5 separate regions of the Homo sapiens genome follow, and regions 1, 2, 3 and 4 are each linked to region 5. The links are contacts of gene promoters, found by promoter capture Hi-C in blood cells and fetal thymus (Javierre and others, 2016). All regions are on one chromosome and are shown on one strand. Each heading gives the region's core, a stretch centred on a gene start or on the middle of the fragment in contact. The rest is flanking DNA. Distances are from core to core; before and after follow the strand shown.

Region 1 (2,884 bases), core at 52-2,551, 2.6 Mb before region 5:
TTTGGCGCCTTCCTTGTCTCTCCTTTCTAGTGTCATTTGTCTTCTAACTCTTCCTCGCTTTGTCCTGGGTTGCAGAGATAAACCGTAAGCCTAACTGTGGGCAGCTGTTCCTCCTTTCCTTGTGGTTTTCTTAGATGTTGCAGGCAAGACTCTTTCCCCTGATCTATCGCATCCATTTGACCCCTCCTCATGCCAGTGCTCTGTCGGCCCTGTTTTTCCTCGTTTAAAAAATAAAAAAAGGGAAATAATAATAATAACTGGATCCCCACTGTCTCTCTGTTCTCATTCCTAGCCTCTTTCTCCCTTTTTGGTGTTTGTTACTGCTTCAAGCCATAACACACTGCCTTGCATATATTAATGCCTTTCCATCTAAATATTAACGTTCATTCACTTCATTTGGTTCCCGCTCACCGTGAACTCTCCCAACCCTACCCACATCTAAGGGCTTTTGAGGTTGGAGGTGTAGAATAAATTCTTACATATGATGACTATATTCATATATGAGAACCTTCAGCGGTCAACTCAGCATCACTGCTTATTGAGTTTATATTTCTTGTGATTTCTTTGGCTTACCTTTTCGTTTTGTATTGGTTATTTACCCACATGGGGCTCACTGCTACCCTATAGTTACAGAAGAATACCTCGTCTTACATCTTTTTATATCCGAATTACTTAGGAGTTTTCTTATGTTTTCCTGCTCGGACCATATGTCCCCGGTGGGTTTTTGGCAATGATTTTGTGTCAGTTGATGGCAGAAAGAGACAAGGGAATGATCTTCTTGCTTGCTTGTGACTTGTAATTAGATTATGAGCCATTGAGAATACCCAGAGGGAGTGGAAAGGCTTTGAAAGGTAAAGTCTATGTATTTTCTGAGTTTCAAATTGATAAAGCTTCTTCTTTGAACAGGAAGAGTTTCTATTTAGTCCAATAATCTGAGGCTATATTGAATTACCAGTTCATTCGCTATAAAATTTTTAGAACCACATGTCAAAAAGTGGCCCATCTAAAGAATTGTATAATTTAGCAAAAAGTCATTAAAAGCCATTTAATTAATGCTCTTTTTCTTTAAAATAGGATTCAAGTATTTGGAAAAATGTATTTATGGTGATTGGTTATGAAGTATTTCTAGATGTTTTGATGGTTCTGGTGAACAGCATCGTATTCTGTTCACTAATGTTTTATAAAAAGGCAGAAATTTTCTGGCTTTCTGGGGAACCACGTAACTCAAATGAGTTTGCAGCTCGTTTTCTATTCCAATTATTGCACTAAAGAGGTTCTTATACTAAGATTATCATTCTTTTTTAAGCTATCAAGTATGATCTATACATGTCAGTAAAATATAAATATTAATACTGGTACAATGTTAAATTGGGATTATTCCTAATTAATGCACAAAATGCTGAAATGGTTTCAGCCATGCTTAAGATTTGGGGCGAAATATATTTCAGAATAAATTTACTCATATAATTTTTTATTGAAAAAAATGATACGGTAGCCATTACTCAATCTTTTAATATTTTTCCTGAGATTTTATTCATTTAGTAGGAATTTAGTGACTACTTACTATTTAACTATTGTCACAAAATCACCAAAACATTTGTTTGTAAGAGTATCCTCTTGTCCTCAGCTCTGCATAGATACTTTTAAAGCATTAGCGCAGTTATTCCAACTAAGCTATTGAGTATTATTTACATTTAACAGATGAAAAAACTGAAGCTTGAAGAATTTAAGGAAATTAATTCAGTTCTTTTCGACTCTTCCCACTGTACAACAGCTGCAAGGATCTGTGCTCTATCCTGAAATATATAAAGAGCGTTAAATCAACATATGCTTACTGAGCAGCTATTCATACCAGACACTCTTCAAGGTGCTGGGGATATAGAGTGAACAAGAAAAGTCCCTGCTCTTAGGGAGCTTATACTCTAGCAGAATGTATGAGATGTAAACTTTCCCTTCAAGAAGCAGAAAATATAGTCAATATGTATTAGATTTTACGGGAGTGTTTTAGAATGTTAAAGGTGAGAAGAGAGATAACTAGGGAATGTTTCATGAAGATGAGATCTAATGTGGAATTTAAATAGTGGTTAGGGATTGGTAGGTAGAAATTAGGACCCTGTCTCAAAAAAAAAAAAAACAAGTGAAAATCTGTGATATAGAATAATTGGTGAGCCTTATAAAGCACTTTATTTTTATTTTTTGGACTATATATAAGTAAAATTGTAATATTTGACATGCATTCAATCATTTAGCATTTATTTATTAACTAGACACTCTTCTAGGCCACAGTGGTATAGTAGTGAGTAAATACGGTGTTTACCCTCATAGAATTTACTAACAGAGGAGGCAGACATAAATCAAATAGTCAAAGAAATTTAAAGTTACAACTGTGGTAAATGCTATTAAAAAAGGACTTGATGTTACACAGAGGAAGAACTGATTACAGAGGGGATAAGAGTGGGGATGGGGAGAGGCCAGTTAGAAGATTGTTGGAGTGGCCCAATTGAGAGATGGTATTTTGGACAAGGTGGTGGTGGTAAGATGGATTCCAGAGGTGTTCAGGAGGTGGAACTAGGCGATGGATTAGATATGGAAGGTGAGGGAGAGGAAGATATCATGGGCTAATCTTAGGTTTTTGGCTTATATAACTGGAAGGATTGTTGCACCCTTCACCGAGGTAGAGAACATCGAAAGAGGACCAGGTTTGGGAAACATGCTTTGTTTATTAGTATTTTTTGTTGTGGTAGCAGTGTTTAAGGTTAATTTCTTAGTTATTTTTACCCTTTTGTGTCATTGTTGTAGTTTTGTATATTTGAGTAATACTATGCCTAAAATAGGTTTTTTTGGTATCATTTTTTCTTGATTGAGCAGGGGTGGGGTTCTACAT
Region 2 (3,069 bases), core at 514-3,013, 2.3 Mb after region 5:
CCAGGCTGGTCTCAAACTCCTTAGCCAGGCTGGTCTCAAGCTCCTGACCTCAGGTGATCCACCCGCCTTGGCCTCCCAAAGTGCTGGGATTACAGGTGTGAGCCACCACACCTGGCCCCAACTAATTTTTGTATTTTTAGTAGAGGTGGGGTTTTACCATGTTGGCCAGGCTGGTTTTGAACTCCTGACCTCAGGTGATCCGACCTCCTCAGCCTCTCAAAGTGCTGGGATTACAGGCGTGAGCTACTGCACCTGACCAGGAACCTTATGATTTTTAACAAGAAAAAATAATACAATACAATTCTAGGTAGGTGGAAAATACATCCATCATAGTTGAACTGATCTTCTCCTTTGATGTGGACAATGATCTAATACTGAAATAACAAGCATTATATTTCTTTCAGATGTTAAAGCATTGATTGTTTTTTGAAAGAAAGAAAGAATAATTCTGCATTATGGAACCAGTAGTAGGAATGTATGTAGGATAAGCATGACTAAAATATCAAAAAGATCTTTAATATGCAAAGCAAGTAGCAGTGCTAAAATAATTGAACAATTCTTGAGTATATATTTCCATATGATTTCTAAATATAATCATTTGGTATCTTTACAAACATTACTACAAGAGCATTCTACTCCTGTGTACTTGGCAGTTGTCAGAGTTACCTGTAGTGGTTTTTAAAATGACATCACATATTGGAGTTATCACACTGATTATAAAGAAATATATATATATATATAATATTGATATAGGAAAATTTCTCTGATTTACCATTGACTATCAATGTCCTCCAGGACTAATAAACAGTTAATGATAAATCAACTATGTCCATTCTAATGTGTAACTACAATCTAACTGTGTAGCTAAATGCAGTTTTTACTTCCAGTCATGAGGCCCAACTTTGAAGATAATCACTGAGAAAACATTCTAGGTATACTCAGCAATCAGGCAAAATGATGTAACGTATCTGAGTCAGAAAGTATGACAAATGAATATTTTTGCATACTGGAAGCCCAAGCTTATCTCAGAGAAAATCCCCAAAATACTTGGGCAAATAACTTTCTGATGAAGTCAAATATAGCATGCAGTATAATTTTTGAGTGGAGGACTAAGCCTATAATAAGAAGTAACCATTTGATATCACATTTTTACTGGATATAGTCGACTTGGGTGGGGCACTTTAGGACTGTGGTTCATTTGAATTGGTGTAAACAATACACCGGTTCTACTGTCCTACAGCCTCCATTCAGATGACTGAAGTCATGGGACTTTCAGCATAGCTAGCTGATGACAGTGCATACTATTTTGTCCCAAAATCCAGTTCAAGCATGGACATACCAATAAGAGCCTAAGCTCTTTAAAGGCAAAGGACCAGGAATTGTACAGTTCTTGGTATAGAAGAAGACAGGCAAAAGTGTTTTTGAACTAACGTTAAATGTGCAATATGTTAGAATTCATGCAATGCACAGGACTGCAGGATTCTGATATCTTATTTAACTCTCAAATTCTATTCAACTCAATAAACCTTGACTGTGCTTCTACTAAATGCAGGTATTGTACTAGGAGCTGAGGACACCAAACTGATGAAGTCCTTGCTGTCAAGAAACTCACATGATTCCCTAATTCTTTGTCAGCTTGCTGTGATCACATTTTCTTCCCAAGAACCTCTAAGAAATGCCTAGTGGATAGAACCTTGGAGTTCCACGGAACATATTAACAATCGCCAAATGATGACTCAGGCTAGATTGTGTAATTCAGGTTTTGTCTGCAAAACTGAAAATGCTTCGGTAACCTACCTAAATTTCAATGTTGAGGAATTCTTTAAGAAAGACATCAAATGTTAAGATTTAAGGCATAGATATGAGATACATAGTCATGCTTAGGTGAATTATGCACTGACCATGACCATTTCTTTACTCAAATGTTGTCCATGGCTGACAACACAGTGAAAAAATGAGTGCAAAATGACAACTCAAATAAATGAACCAGAAAACCTATCACTTTTCTTTTCCACCAAATTAAGATCAAGAGAGCTGGAGAATATTTTGTCTAGAGTGATAAAAACATAAGGGTGCAAAACTTCCAGGTACCTTTGCAGAAATTACTTCTGTGACCTTTGGCTGTACAGCAACCTTAATAATGCAAGCACTGTTTTGAATGCAAGCATGTGGGAGCCATTTTCACCACTTTTGATGACTTCAGTAGGTTTAAGAAATGTTTTTGCTTTTATTGCATAAACCATAAAACAAAGGAAGGGACTTTTGAACTACTCAGTGAGAGTCTATATATTAAAGTTTGTTTTTCAAAAATGTGTAACTACCATTTGCAGTTTTAAAGGTCTGCTTTCCACCTACAAGTTGCCATTATCTCAAAGGTGAAATTTTAGCATATGACTAAAAACTTCCTATAGTTACAGCTTCATGATTCAGCATCTAACATCAATAATTCACAGTGAGATCATAGGAGGCTCTCTGTGGAAGGTAACGACATACATACGTTAGGAAAGGAAGCTTAGGGCATATCGAGAGCATTTTGAATTTAGACTTGTGGGCTGTGTGGGTGTCAGATGGTTGTCTCTCAGCTGGTGGGCGTCCAGAAGGATCCTTGTTTGGGCAAGGCTCTTTGAGAAAGGAGAATCTGGGTTGCCAGGGATTCCCACATGTGGTCACCAGCTCCCCACGCAGACCAGCTCACGATTTCCCAGTTACACCGGGCAGGTGGGAAACCGTTCTGCTTTCTGTGGAAAAGATTCTAACTTGGTTCCCTGCCATCCCTGAATACAAACGGGTTGGTTTTTCTTTTTTCAGCTTCCAACCCTTGCAGCTTTCCAAAAATAAATCAAACCAGCCATCAGGGCACCGAAATAATACTACTGCTAATAAGCAGCTTCGCCTAGACTTAGATAAACAACACTTCTGAGGTAAACTTTGCCCCGGAGGTCTGGAGACACTTTTTTAATGTAACCTGCTTACTAATAATTACTAGACTTCAGTGCATTAACCCTGGAAATAGATTTTAATAGCCACCCCTTAAAACAAAAGACATGAAAAGATAATAAGAAAAAAGTG
Region 3 (2,819 bases), core at 169-2,668, 2.0 Mb after region 5:
CCATTCATAAATAACCAAGCAAATCAACACACTCACTAGATATGGCCCCTCACAAAAGTGAGGGCCGCACTATGTTATTCTATCTAATCTGAAAAAAAAATGCAATTAAGACTCATAATTCTATAAAATTACAAATCTGAAAGGAAAATATGGCATTTAGGATTATTAGAGAACATCACTTCAGTTTAAAACAGCCATTTAACCAGAAAAAGTGTCATCTTTTGGTCTTCTTAGCTACAGGCACACAAAAAGGGCCATCTTCCCCTATTAAAGTTTAAAATTTTATAGCATGTAAGTGTATATATGTTTGTACACACTCCCACATCCCTAAGTACTTCCAAGTTAGGAAACAGTTACTTATTATGCATGGAGAGAGTCCTCTAAAAAATTTGCCCTAACAACTATCTTTATTTTCAAAGAATCTTTAAAAACCAAATACACACACGTTAAGACCGCTTTTAAGCAACATGTAAGAAATAAGAAAACTTGTGACACTAAGTGATAGCTGAAGCATTTACTAATTTCCCCCTTTACTACTTTTTTCCTGTAATGTCTGAAACCCCACAAAGGCAACCAATTTAAATTATTGGTGCCCATAAGGATCAACAGATTGATGGTTAAATTAATGACTTTAAGATTGTTGGTATGCTCTAATTCCCAATTTCTGACAAAGTCATAAAGCAGCTGAGGAATTGGTTTTACAAGATTTTAAGCTGCTTCACTTTGGTTCTTTCTAAGAAAGTAGAACACCATCAAGACACACCCAGTTGTTCTGCTGCCTGTTAACTGGAGCCAAACAGTAACTATCAATCTCTTCAATAGAATTTTGAAGTTCATTCCCTGTAAATACTCAAGATAGACTACAAATATTAGACCTTACACCAAGGTATTTAAATAAATGTCATCAGTAATAAAGTGCACTGGGGTGGAGTTATGGAACCAGTCCTTGCAATAATATCCAAGCCAAACACACCCAAGTGAACAATAGTTGGCGTCCCCACCCAATATCAAGTTTACAGAATCTTAAAAACGTATTAAACCTACCTAATGAAAAAGACTGACATTTAAAAATGCAAGCTTCTTTTGATATACTTATCTATAACTTGCAAGCTCACTAACTGCACTAGTTTCAAGGCATTCATTCTTTTTTAGAAAATCCCTGGTCTACACTCTCAATGACATTCTGCTGTCAATTCTCAAGTTCTTCAAATGGGCAAGAGAATGTACAAAATTAATTCATAAAACATAAACATTAAATATCTGTCTAAAGTATGTCAAGTATTATGTCACAATGTGTTATCAAAATCACAGAACACAATCAGGTTAACCTTCCTACTACATGCAGCGACTTTGTTTACAGATTTATTCCCAGTAATCAGGACAGTAGAATCTCAAAACGGGTATTGTCCATTCAACACTTTTCCTGTATTTTACATGCTTGTATTTTATGCAACTTAACAGTAGTGCTCTGAAATACTGACCTAAGGAAAATGCTGATTGCTAACATGGAATAGTTTTCCCATGGAAAGACTCATTGAACGGTGAACCTAAGTCTTGGTTCTAACTTCATGAAATCATTCCCCACATTTGTTAACTTAAAATACTACTTTTCAGGTAAGAGCTTATTTCATAGATGGGCTTCATGATCAAAATAACTCAGGCATTTAAACCATGCTTCATGTTTTGAACATTCAAAATGAGTGAACACATCTACCTGGTACACATTATTCGTCAGATTCAACTTTTTCGTGTACTTTCTTAAGCTTAAGCATAGTTTAAATAATTACACAAGTCAGCGTTACTTAACACACGAATTAAATGATTTATTTAATTGTGCTAGATTGCCATAAAGCTTAACTGGCTGAAGAGATACTTGGCCTAAGTGATATACATGCTTTCTAATACTCCAACTGTATTTTTCCTCAACCTATAATTTTACCACAAGAATTAATTATTTTCTTTTATTCACCACCTAGGACCGAGGTTCTTCATTCCGAGCCTCACAAAAGTCCTCAAAAAAAAAAAAAAAAACCCTCCTAAAACAAATCCTACCACGAGAAAATTGTTTTGATTTTTAAAATTAGTTCACTGTTACAGAATTCAACTAAAGCTAAAGAGAAACAACTCCTTTCAGAGAAGCACGTGGCAGGAAGGGGTAATTTCAACTTTCAACATATAAATGCAGCTTTAAAGATTCAGACCTTAGGTCCAACACCTGCTTGCTATTGATCATGCACGTTCTTATCTCCAAACTGCTTGCTCTTTTTTTTCATCCGCAACAAACTGGTAAAGCGAATGCAAAAATCAAGACAATCCTGTGAAACTCACAGTGCCCTAGAAACAACTATTAACCGCCAGTGAAACTCTGACCATGCTTCACGCACATGTGGTGGAAAAAAAAAACTGCGAACTCTAAAGAGCTCTGCTGCGACTAACGCTGTGACAGCCTCTGCACTCACTTCACCCACGAGGCCCAGACCCCACCACGTGAAAGATTCAGTTTGGGGAGTCGAGAGAGAGGATCGTGACTCGAGGACGTTCCTCGGGATGTCCTGCAATCACCAGTCTTCATTCATAATTCCCGCTCCTGGTTAATCGAGTGTGGCCAAACTCCTCCATTTCCCAACGGCTCAACTCACCCCAGCAAGTTATGAGAAAGTCCTAACAGTTGAGAGGTGGAAGAGAAACAAATAAAGGACATGCGGCACCCCAACCTGCAGCTTACTCCACACGTCTGATGGCCTGGAACGACCCCCTGCTTTTCAGCGGGGATACTCCGCGCCGTCGTGGGACAAGACGGCAGGACAGGAGCCTGAAAC
Region 4 (2,700 bases), core at 153-2,652, 2.1 Mb before region 5:
TATACTTGACTCCCTGCTAAAAGTCATTTAATAGCCCCTTACTGATCACTGGATACATTCCAGACACCATAGCCTGGTATTCAAGGCTCTCTACAATTACCAGTCCTTTCCAGCTTCATCACCCACCACCTAAACTAGAGGAAATGTTCTACACTTTTCAGCTGCCACAATATTTGGCTTGAACCATTTCCTTTGTCTAGATTCTTACTCTCATTCTCTGGGCTTATCCAGCCAGGCTTTCCTTCAAAGCTCAGCTGACTCCTCCAGGAAAAGCATTTCCTGATGGTTTGCAGTTTACAGTGAACCCTCTTCTCCTAACTCCTACAGTGCTTAGTGCATATGTAAGTAATGTAACATTTAGTATGTGTTTCCTTCTATAGCTTTTTATCCTTTTATGCATAAAAATGTCTTTCCAATGAGAATTAAATGCCTTGAGGGCAGGGACCTGCCATATTTCTCCATATTCCCAGTGCTGATGGTCTTTTAGATATAATCATATTTTAGACCTGGAAGTTCACCTAGCCCTACTGATTTCTTTCACAGTTGAAGAAACTGAGGCCCAGAGAGAAGTTATTCAGACTCAGTAGAAAGCCATAGTCCTAGCCAAATATTTGCTAACACTTACAAATTATAGGGGTTGGCTTACGTAGAATGGCAAGATTCAGAAGTGGGGAATGAGGGCACTCTCTGAACAAAGGAAGGCAAGTAAAAATCATCACAGCCGTCCATGCGTGATTGGACAGAAGCCTAGACTGAGATGGAAATAGTGGAACTGGAAAGGAAGGGATCAATGCAAAAGGAAAAGTGTGCAGGTCTTACTAACTTACTAGATAGGTATTTTTGGCAAGTTTGGGACCAGGTGATTCAAGCTGCCCGCTGGGGCACGTGTAGTGGCTACTCGAGGGCAGGGCTGTCCTTTTGCACAACGCACAGGCTCTCGCAAATGGTTGGATGTTCAATGTTTCTTACTTTAGGGGGCTGCCCAGTCTTCTTCTTCGCAGGCATGTGGCTAGAAGAAAGTGAAGCAGGTTGGCTTTCTGGCTCCTCGAGGGCACAGGCCCAGAGGTGGTGAGGACCGGCCAAGGCTCTCTGCTCAGTGCAGCAAGCCAGGGCCCGCCCCTGACAGGAATCCGTTGGCTAAGCAGCCGCTCCGGCCTTGGCCACGATCCCAGGAAAGAAGAGCAAGGGGCTTTCCACCTGCCCCTAGCCTAACCCGGGGCTGGGGACCTCTCGGGTTCCATCGGCTCTTGCCCCGCCTCCTAAGCCGGCCGCCTCCTGTCCAGGCCAGGTTGCCCGCCCCTCCCCTCACGCTCGACGGGCTCGCTCCCGCACCGGGCGCGCGGGTGGTGCGCGGGCACACGGAGGCGGAAGGCCGGAGGGGCAGTCCGCCGCGGGGGCGAGCGCGCATGCGCCTTCCTGGGACCCACGGCAGGCGCGAATCCCAGCGGCCGGCGGGCGGCGGGGTAAGAGCATGGGATCCCGGAGGTTCCGGACCCCAGGCCAGTGTGGGGAGGTGCCGGGGGCTCGGACGCGCCACGAGCCGGCGCAGAGCTGGCGACCCGTCTCCCAGCTCCGCTCCACTCCCAGGGACGCGACGCGAGGCCTCCCCAGCCCTTCCTGCAGGGTCGCTTGTGGGTCGGGTGAGGGGACGCGGTGATAGTGGTGGCACTTGCAGGCTGGGGCGGTCCTGGCACCCTTGTCCTTGCGGTTCTGAGGGCCTGGCCCTCAAGAGGAGGGGCGGAGAAACGCGAGAAGGGATCCCTTTCGCCCCATATACACGCCCGGGATAGCTGCACTCCCCGGTGTTGTGTCCACTGCGGTGGAAGGACCTTTCAGACTAAAAGGAGCAAAGTCGGTTCTGGGATGGGGACGGCGGGCTTGGCATTTGTCGAGATGCACCGTCAGGGCAAAGGAGGACGAAAAGCGCATCTACTGCCTGCCTAGCAACTTCGTGGCCAGTGGATGGGTTAGAAAATTACTGTTTTCTGATTTACAGGTGGAAAAAGTCGCAAATAACCCTTTTTCTGGTTTAAGCAGAAGAGAGTCGTTAAAAGCCTCGCATAATATCTTTAACCACACAGGGCTCAGTAAAATTAGGGTACCTCCCCGCTTCGTACACACAGACGCACACAGCTCCATTCAGCAAATACTTCTTGGGTACCTGCCTTCTGCTAACACTGTTCTACAAGTGGGGAACAGAGAGCAACGACTAAGACAGGAGGATCCCTGCTCACAGGGAGCCTTTAGTCAACACATCCAAGTAATTTCCTTTTACACTTTTTTTTTTTTTAATTGAGACAGAGTCTTGCTCTGTCGCCCAGGCTGGAGTGCAGTGGCACGATCTTGGCTCACTGCAACCTCTGCCTCCCGGGTTCGAGCGATTTTCCTGCCTCAGCCTCACGAGTAGCTGGGATTACAGGAACGCACCACCACGCCCAGCTAATTTTTGTATTTTTAGTAGAGATGGGGTTTCACCATGTTGACCAGGCTGGTCTCGAACTCCTGACCTCAGGTGATCCACCTGCCTCGGCCTCCCAAAGTGCTGGGATTACAGGGGTGAACCACTGCGCCCAGCCCCTTTTATGCTTTTTAAATTGGAATATACCATATAGAAAAATACTGTACGCAAATTATAAGTTGTAACTTGTTAATTTATCCTAAAGTCAACACATTTCCTAACCACTACTCAAATCAAGAAGG
Region 5 (2,700 bases), core at 174-2,673:
GAAAACGGAGAAAAAGCAAGAGAAGAGGGACGGCACCATCAGGTAGAGTGGATCTCAGCTAGAATGAGGGGAAGTGGCCCAGAATCCAACCTCCTCCAAAGAGCTGTGTGACAGGCAAGTCCTATCCTTTCTGCACCTCTTTCCTTAAATGTAAGTTGAAGCATTTGGACCAGACTGTTTCAATGATCTTCTAGATTGCTTTTGCCAAAACAGAACTCTCCATTCCTGTAAGATAAGTACACAATGGCTCTCAGAGATCTAAAAACTGGCCTTGGTTACCTGCAAACTTTGAGGCCCCAAGGCACAAAAATAATAGCTTTTTTTTTTTATTTTTTTTTTTAAGGTTCATGAAAGCTTCGGACACAAAAGCTTATATGGTCTTCGTCTCTATAAATAAACCAGGGAGTAAAGAAAAACCCCGCTAGTTTCAGTAAAGCGTTGCTATTAAGCAAAGCAAACCTATGCAAATATCAAGTTCTTAATGAGGAGTGTTTCCTAAGGGGCCTGTCCTCTGGTACCCCGCCTCTCCTCTGCCACAGTCATGTGAAGGCAGACAGGCACACACTCGCACACTAGCACGCACTTGGGAGCTCAGGGAACATAACACTGGTTAGTGAGTCGGTGTCCCTCTCCCATCGATTGCAACTTTTCCCCTCCTTCCCTCTCCTGCCTCTCCCCACTTTCTACATCTCCGTTCTCAGGAAGGCTCAGGGAGGATCCCCCGCTGCGTGCACTGCGTTCTGAGAGGCCGGGGAGAGACTCTGGGCCCGCGGTCGGGGCGGAGCCAAGGTCCCAACCCACATTGAACGGGCTTGAGGATTACTTGGAGGGCTCAGGATCTAGGAGGAGGGCCCAGGGCACTGGGTTGGGGTTACTCTGGGAAAGCTCTGTGGGACCAGGTGGGACCTTAGGGCTGGAGATGGACTCTGCGAGCTGGGGGCGGAGTTCTAGACTGGCAGGAGCGGAGTTCTGGGTGGCGGGGGCGGGGTCGGGACCAGCAGGGACGGCCTCTGAGAGTTGGGGGCGGAATTCTGGGCCGGTGAGGGCTGGGGCGGGACCAGCAGGGGAGGCCTCCGCGAGCTAGGGGAGGAGCTCTGCATTGTCTGGGGCGGGGCTTCGAGTAGCGGTAGCGAGGTCTGGAGCCGCAGGCGCTGCCTCCGCGAGGTAGGGGAGGAGCTCTGTACTGTCAGGGGCGGGGCTCTGAGTAGCGAGGCCGGGTCTGAACTATCAGGCGCGGCCTCTGCGAGCTGGGGGCGGGGTTCTGCACCGGCGGGGGCGGGGTTGTGAGTGGTGGGGGCGGGGTCTGGAGCAGCAGGCGCCGCGTTTGCGAGCTAAGGTCGGAGTTCTGCACCGGCGGGGGCGGGGCTCTGCGTGGCCGGGGCGGGCTCGGGATCCGCGGGGCGACTCCCGGTCTGGCTTGGGCAGGCTGCCCGGGCCGTGGCAGGAAGCCGGAAGCAGCCGCGGCCCCAGTTCGGGAGACATGGCGGGCGTTAAAGGTACATCGCGGTCCCCGGCTCGCTTGTCGTGTGGTGGGGTTGCCACCTCCGTTCCGGTCAAGCCTGGGGCTGCGCCTTCCGCGCGCCGTTGGGGAACGGCCTCACCACCCTTCCCGCCTCTCCGGTTCGGGAGGCGATCGACCGCTCCCTTCGTCCCTTGGGGTGTGGGTGGAGCGGCGTTTCGGGGGAGCCTTGGCCCTTTTTGCAAGGCCGCTGGCCTTCCTGCTCTCCAGTGGCGGCACCAGACCCCTCCCCAGCCTGAGCCCTCGGCGAGAGCGGCGCCCTCCACCTCTCCTGAGTTTTTAAACAAGGTTTCCACTTCTTGACGCCACCCTAACGCCTTTCTTCTGGTTTTCTGCCCCTCCGCAGTTTCCTATTTGCCACAAAGGACCCTTTGTCTCCAGCGTTCTTAGCATTGGGAAACTTAATCCTCTTTTTCCTAATGATTTTTCCAACTGGGCAGAGTTGACCGCGGGCGGGTGTCAATGGAAAGCACCCAGAAAGACGGTGTTTCTCGCAGTCGTGGAGAGTAGATTACGTGTAATTTTAATACTGCTTTCTTCGGTGTTTTCTCTGTTTATGGACAGAGAAGAAACCAGTGTGTGTGTAGTATGTGTTTTTTGCATGGGGCAGTTGGTAAAAACACCGCGTCCCTTATCTGTATGGCTTCAGAGCAATGCGAGACGGAAAAGGTTTTTTGCAAGGCTTCCTGTATTTTGGTAGGAAAACATTCCATTTCTAATCTGTCGAATAGAGTAGCATGACTTGTTTTTATATTGGCTTTTATATCATCCTTGAAATTTGCACCCAAAGATATCCCCAGTTAACATCTGCTATAAACATGTAGATAGTATATATACGAGTACGCCTCTGTTCACTATGAATTTATCCGAGTATGTGAGCTGTTAGCAGCAGACATTTTATCGTTATTTCTGGCTGACTTTTATACTTAATATCAGTTTAGTAAACATGGTTTACTTGGAGAGTGTCGACTGTGTTATATATCCATTTGAAGCCAATGCCGAAAACAGATGAAAAGTAGTGTCTCAGTACTACACATGATCAGAAACTACCAAATCATGATCACGTTTATGTGTGAATGTGTTAGAAAATTGTGATGTAGTGAAAAAAAAGGAAGTCTGAAATGGAAACGGACTAAGGGAAGGAAGCATTTTACAGATTGTTCAACTTTTATTGAGGAACT

What was found. The method cuts DNA at HindIII sites, captures the fragments that hold promoters and counts their contacts. A CHiCAGO score of 5 or more calls a contact.
Region 1: a fragment that was not itself captured here is called in contact with the fragment with the promoter of LEPR in region 5 in 1 of 17 cell types (naive CD4 T cells); the score reaches 6.9 in naive CD4 T cells.
Region 2: a fragment that was not itself captured here is called in contact with the fragment with the promoter of LEPR in region 5 in 4 of 17 cell types (fetal thymus, naive CD4 T cells, non-activated CD4 T cells and 1 more); the score reaches 11.1 in fetal thymus.
Region 3: a contact is called between a fragment that was not itself captured here and the fragment with the promoter of LEPR in region 5, in 1 of 17 cell types (total B cells). The highest score is 5.3, in total B cells.
Region 4: the fragment with the promoter of ALG6 here is called in contact with the fragment with the promoter of LEPR in region 5 in 6 of 17 cell types (non-activated CD4 T cells, naive CD8 T cells, total CD4 T cells and 3 more); the score reaches 10.5 in non-activated CD4 T cells.

The regions. Positions count from the first base shown.
Region 1 is chr1:62,784,410-62,787,293 of GRCh38, forward strand. All of the region lies in intron 1 of ATG4C (autophagy related 4C cysteine peptidase), which reads left to right. Among named protein-coding and RNA genes, the nearest start is that of ATG4C, 1.7 kb to the left of the region's middle. RefSeq lists a silencer at 1-203. The HindIII fragment of the contact is 826 bases long and covers 889-1,714 here.
Region 2 is chr1:67,681,783-67,684,851 of GRCh38, forward strand. No RefSeq gene overlaps it. Among named protein-coding and RNA genes, the nearest start is that of GADD45A, 1.9 kb to the right of the region's middle. RefSeq lists a cis regulatory region at 828-1,320. The HindIII fragment of the contact is 1,492 bases long and covers 1,018-2,509 here.
Region 3 is chr1:67,426,722-67,429,540 of GRCh38, forward strand. The region is part of intron 1 of SERBP1 (SERPINE1 mRNA binding protein 1); the gene reads right to left. Among named protein-coding and RNA genes, the nearest start is that of SERBP1, 2.3 kb to the right of the region's middle. RefSeq lists an enhancer at 2,218-2,819. The HindIII fragment of the contact is 686 bases long and covers 1,076-1,761 here.
Region 4 is chr1:63,366,225-63,368,924 of GRCh38, forward strand. It overlaps ALG6 (ALG6 alpha-1,3-glucosyltransferase), which reads left to right and starts at 1,403. Exons shown (of 15, transcript NM_013339.4): 1 at 1,403-1,463. RefSeq lists enhancers at 863-1,002, 1,863-1,972 and a silencer at 1,203-1,682. The HindIII fragment of the contact is 8,093 bases long and covers 1-2,700 here.
Region 5 is chr1:65,419,245-65,421,944 of GRCh38, forward strand. It overlaps LEPR (leptin receptor), which reads left to right and starts at 1,424. Exons shown (of 20, transcript NM_002303.6): 1 at 1,424-1,496. It overlaps LEPROT (leptin receptor overlapping transcript), which reads left to right and starts at 1,424. Exons shown (of 4, transcript NM_017526.5): 1 at 1,424-1,496. The coding sequence starts at 1,481. RefSeq lists enhancers at 738-1,270, 1,271-1,804, 1,878-1,927 and silencers at 918-987, 1,008-1,507. The HindIII fragment of the contact is 9,332 bases long and covers 368-2,700 here.